2 separate regions of the Homo sapiens genome follow, and region 2 is linked to region 1. Evidence: promoter capture Hi-C in 16 types of primary human blood cells and fetal thymus (Javierre and others, 2016). All regions are on one chromosome and are shown on one strand. Each heading gives the region's core, a stretch centred on a gene start or on the middle of the fragment in contact. The rest is flanking DNA. Distances are from core to core; before and after follow the strand shown.

What was found. The method cuts DNA at HindIII sites, captures the fragments that hold promoters and counts their contacts. A CHiCAGO score of 5 or more calls a contact.
Region 2: a contact is called between a fragment that was not itself captured here and the fragment with the promoter of OR11H6 in region 1, in 1 of 17 cell types (erythroblasts). The highest score is 5.4, in erythroblasts.

Annotation. Positions count from the first base shown.
Region 1 is chr14:20,222,262-20,225,281 of GRCh38, reverse strand. OR11H6 (olfactory receptor family 11 subfamily H member 6) reads right to left here and starts at 1,572. Exons shown (of 1, transcript NM_001004480.1): 1 at 580-1,572. The coding sequence starts at 1,572. The coding sequence ends at 580. The HindIII fragment of the contact is 8,071 bases long and covers 812-3,020 here.
Region 2 is chr14:19,926,748-19,929,447 of GRCh38, reverse strand. All of the region lies in intron 2 of LOC124903278 (a long non-coding RNA gene), which reads left to right. It also overlaps a transcript of OR4K1 not described here. Among named protein-coding and RNA genes, the nearest start is that of OR4K1, 2.8 kb to the left of the region's middle. The HindIII fragment of the contact is 380 bases long and covers 1,078-1,457 here.

The DNA of each region.
Region 1 (3,020 bases), core at 323-2,822:
GCAGTGGCGTGATATCAGCTCACTGCAAGCTTAGCCTCCCAGGTTCAAGCAATTCTCATTCCTCAGCCTCCTGAGTAGCTGGGATTACAGGTGTGTGCCATCACGCCCAGCTAATTTTTGTATTTTTAGTAGAGACAGGGTTTCATCATATTGCCCAGGCTGGTCTCGAATTCCTGATCTCAGGTGATCCTCCCGCTTTGGCCTCCCAAAGTGCTGGGATTACAGTCGTGAGCCACCGTGCCCAGCCAGATCTCACTCTTTTGAAAGGTTTCAGTACACATGCAATTGATTTCTTCTGTCAGCTAAGATTAAAACTAGCAAAGATACATCACAGAAAAATAATATACGTATATATACACCCACCCACCACATAACTACTCAGTGAGGCCACATATGTTTAAAATGTTTTATTGAGCATTGGCATTTATCATTAATGAGCTGAATTTAACTGCTAAGGAACTGTGAAAGATAAGTCTGTCTACCTGAGTGTGAGCCAGAACATACTACTGAAGCTACTCTCTATAGTTATAAAAAATTAAGGTCAGAAGTGGCCAATTTGGCTTCTTTTTCAAAGATATCTCAGTTTTGGCTAACTGTTAACCCCAGGACTCTCTTTAGAGCATCTTTCATGTCTTTGTTTCGAAGACTATAGATAAGGGGATTTAAGAATGGAGTCATTGCTGTGTATACCAGAGTGATGATCTTCTGCATTCCTGCTGGGTTCCCTGATGTTGGGCTCACATACATCACCATAAGGGTTCCATAGAATAGAGACACCACCATTAGGTGGGACCCACATGTGGAGAAAGCTTTAGTTCGACCAGCACCAGAGGGAATACAAAGCACAGCTCTGATGACCAGAGTGTAAGATCCCAAGATGGAGAGGAAGGGCCCAAAGATAATCATCGAGTTGAAGGTGTAACAGATAAGCTCAGTGGAAGGAGCAGAGATGCAGGCCAGTGCAAACAATGGGCCTGGGTCACACACCAAGTGGTCAATGATGTTGGGCCCACAGAAGGGAAGTTGGGAGATAAGAACAATAGGGACTGGATAGCAGAGAAATCCGCCTACCCAGCATACACAGACCAGAATTATACAGAACTTCCCAGTCATGATGGAGGGGTAGTGTAATGGACGACAGATGGCCAGGTACCGATCATAAGCCATAACTGATAAAAAGAAACACTCTGTTGTACCCAGTGAAAAAAAGAAATAGAATTGCAGGAAGCAACCAGAGAAGGAGATGGTTTTAATCTCAGAGAGGATATTGACTAGCATGTTTGGGACAGTGGAGGAAATGTACCAGATCTCTAGAAAGGCAAAGTTTCCCAGAAGGATGTACATGGGTGTGTGGAGCCGCCTGTCCAATTTCACTGCACAGACAATAGCTCCATTCCCTAGCAGTGTCAGGAGATAGAGAACCAGGATGAATGAGAAGAAGCAGCTCTGCATCTCCCTTTGACCATGGAAACCCAGGAGGACAAACTCAGTCACAAAATGCATTGTTCTGTTCTGGGGTCCCAAAGCTGTTAGAAAAACAGAAGTAACCAAAGAATGAATAATAAAGAACATTTGGAGATTTTGCTAACTCATGCTGGATGATGTACTAAGTATTTTTACATACATTATCTCATTTGGTCTTCCTAATGACTCTTTGAGCTGCGAGGAGGTATTCTTTACCCTTCTCTTTCACAGACAGGGTAATTGAAGTTCAAAGAGATTAGAAGGGTTCACTTAAACATATGTACAAAGCCAGTAACGCCCAGATACACTGGCCTATTTGGAGATTGGTTTGGAACAAATCATGTTTCACTTCAAATTTTCTATAACCCTGAGTCTCAGTAATGTTTCATCTTTAATGGTAAAATCACTGCCCCTTAGATACTCTACATATAAATATAAACTTTGGATATATTCTTTTACTTTAAAGCAAAATTGAGTATAAATCTGAAGCAAGAATAGTTGCTATATTAAAATTGCCTTCTTAGAGCCTCATATGTAGAAGTCCAATAAAAAGCAGATAGGAATTAAACTTTGGGGAGTCTTCAGCTCCCTTCCTTTTGCTACTCTCAGGGAGGTGCTGCAGAACCCTTAGGAATCTGTAAAATGGTCTGAAAGCTACAAATCTAGTTCCCCCCAGATCACATTCTCCCTGGTGGCATCTGGATTTGCTGAATAATCCAGCCCCTTTTTCTCGTGAGGAGCTCTAGTTCTCTCAAAGCCCTTCTTTATGGTGAGCAAACTTTGTATCCTTTATTACTTTTACCCATTGATCTTGGTACTCCCCAAGTCAGCAGGTAAACTTTGACTTTGTTGAAACTACACAAAATAAGTCTAATTCCTCTCCCATGATGGTGGTAGTGAGGTCTTAAATAACTGAAGGCAGCTGTTATGTCCCTTACCTATGACTTCTTTGGCAGGCCACCATTTTCCCTGCTTGTCAGCCTCCTTCTCCAACAAATTGTACTATTCTACATCATGACTTAGCTCTTGAGGGAGCTTGCTGTTGGGTAAATCAATTTCTCTAGTAATAAAGCCATGTGCCTTTATTTTTGCTAGAAATTAAGTCCTAAACTTTATAATTTGTCCCTTCATTATCTTGCTTTTCCATAAATTAAATAATGAATAAAAGAGTCACCTCAGGATGTGCAGAGAACAGAAAGATCTTTCTGATATTTTCTAAATCAGGAGTTGAGACAAGATAAATAACTTAGATATTTTGCTAACAATTTTCTAGAAACTATTGGTCCAGCAGGCTTATTTCTGTGTCCTCAAATATCCTTGTTAAAGTTCAGAATATTTGGCTGGGTAAGCCACTATCAATATTTTAAATTTAGCAATATAATGACTTTAAAATTAGGATAATTTATTGTATTATTAGCGTCACTGTTAAGATACTCACAAAATTCCATCTTTACATCATTTATATGATCCACAGAGAGCGAGAGGCCTGCCTTTCAGTACTTGATCAAACCTGGAGCAAACCCAAAAGCATAAATGTTTTATTGCCGAGGTAACTT
Region 2 (2,700 bases), core at 18-2,517, 300 kb after region 1:
CCATGCTCTCTGTCTCTGTCTCTCTCTCTCTCCCCCCATACGCACACACACACACACACACACACACACACACACACACACACACACAGAGTGTGATATGTATAAAATGCACATATTATATTATTTTAATTATATATATCTATATATAAAAAATAAATGAAACAGAATAGTATCCAGAAATATAACCAAATATATATGTATAAACTATATAATAATATTTATAATAATTTAAAGAAATGTAGATTACTATATAAATGAAATTCATGGGAAAAAGTAAATTTCTATCTGCATACAGTTATAAAAGCAAAATAAATTTTAATTGGATCAAAGATTAAGTTTTAAAAATTAGAAAAAAGCACGTGAAGATTTTTTTATAATCTTGGAGTTGGTAAGGCCTCTAAAGCATGATGTTAAAGAAGCCATAAATATATGGCTATGTAATGGATAGAATTGATTGACTTAATCATTTTTAGATTTGATATATCAAAAAAACCCACAATCAACATTAAATAAAAAAGCAAACTATAAAATATGTGCAACATATATGACCAATGAGACTAATTCCTTGTAAATCAAAATATTATTAGTAATTAAAATAAAGAAATATCAATAAGTAGAAAAATGAGCAGATGCACAAGGAGTTCAAAAGAACAGAAATACTCTGCAACTCTATGACAATAATAAGACATCTTTACCTTACAGATTGAAAAAATGTCAACATAATTTGGAGTAATTTGGGGAGAAAATATGTTAATTATTTGTCAATGAAAATCTAAATAGAAACATACATTTTATACTTAGTAAACATACTTAAAGTAGAAAACAGGTAACATTTTAATTTAAGAGGCAAAAAATATGCCCAATTAAAAATAAAAACCCTATTTATTATTTAGAGAAATGTAAAATAAACAAATAGGAATTTTAAAAAAAAGCTTTCTATTGTCAGTTAAATTGGCAAAGGTGGCAAAGACAAGACATGAATTAGCGACACATTGGAGAAAGATAAACATAATTGAAGTCACAGAAGAAGAGAGCACAAGACTAAAACAATAGCTGAAGAGATCCTGGCTAAAAGCTTTCCATAACTGAAGTATAGTTCTAGCCATAGAAGCAAGACATTCAATAAACCACTAGCAATAAATAAATAAATAAATAAAATAAATAAATAAGCAAGATCATAGTAAATCCTAGAATTGTTGGGACAGGAACCACAAAATCCATAAGTGGATCAATGGGAATGATGCAGAGAGAGTCCAATCTATGCCTTGTCTATTCCTTGTTATCTGATTGTGAGTATTTTAGCTACTGGTGACACAAAATTGCAAATTAACTGTCATTTCAACAAATATATTACATTTTGGAGTTCACCATCTCAAAAAATGTGAGTATAATCTCAACAACAGACTTTTATCTGAGGCTTTTAAAGGTCATTCCAATCTTGTTTGTGGCTGGAAGCTTCCCAGAAAAATGGATCCATGATATGTCTCTATTGTCACACCTCTTCACTGTAAATTCAATAAATTCCAGTTTCTTCACTGTAAATACTTTTGTCTATAATTCCAGAGACAATCTCTGTGGAATCCTATATCCATATGTCAAACACTCTGTGTGCCCTGGAATTGTGTCTGGGGAGAAGGACTACAGGTAGAGAGGGAAAACTCACATCAGGAATAGGAATGAATTCCAATAAAGACAAATCACTACCCCCCCTTCAGAGGAAGGGGTGTGATACAGTTGATTTGCCACCAAATGGATGTGGTCTTTCTGCAGAATGGCACCATAACAAGGTTGCAGCATGACTCCCTTCTGCCAACAGACCAAGCATTCAGGAGCTGTAGCAGTGGTATGAGACTAACCTTGATAAAAGAGAGTCCATGTTTTTGGTCCCTGATAGGCATTGTTGTAAAGTACAAAAATCTACACACTTAGAGCCCACTCACATACGTTCATCCTCATTCTTCCCTCCCAGACTACTTTCCTCCAATTTTCAATTTTGATCTTCAAGACCCCTAACAAGCTAGCAAAGCCATTTTTCAAAGCCCACAAATTCATGTTTATTTTTACTTATGACCAATTCTCCATCTAAATCTGATAACTAAGTGCAATGTTTATGGCTCTGGCCAATGAGAGAATTCTTCCTCCTGAGTGTCCATGAAGGTCATCTGAGTGAGTAGTAATGCAGCAGCAGTCCCATTTTTTGGCTTGCACCAAGGCATAGAATGAAGTCATCCGTAGAAACTCTCTCATGAGGCCATAATATTGAGCTTAAGAAAATATATTAATGCCACAGAAATACTTGATAAGGGATTTAGACTATCTGTTCATACCAATTCCTAGTGCCTTTATACCTGCTTCAGCGTGGTCCTACACATGCCATTTCCAATGTGTGATGGCTTGCTGCTGTGGCAGCTAGAAATTATGATTTAATAAATCTGATAACAGTTCATGATGAGCAGTGCTTTTCATGTAGGCAGTCACTTGGAAATCAATGGTCAGGTACTTAGTCCCTGATAAGACCCAACAGCATACTAAGATCTATTTTTAAATAGTAAGCAGTTGGCTTCTGCAGAGCTTTTTTTCTGGAATCCTAAAAGTATTGTTATTTATCTAATTGACTTTTGTAAATAATCTACACAATGTCCTTATTTATCATGGATATCTCCATTTCATTGGATTTCTGGTCGACATAGCCTGAATGGC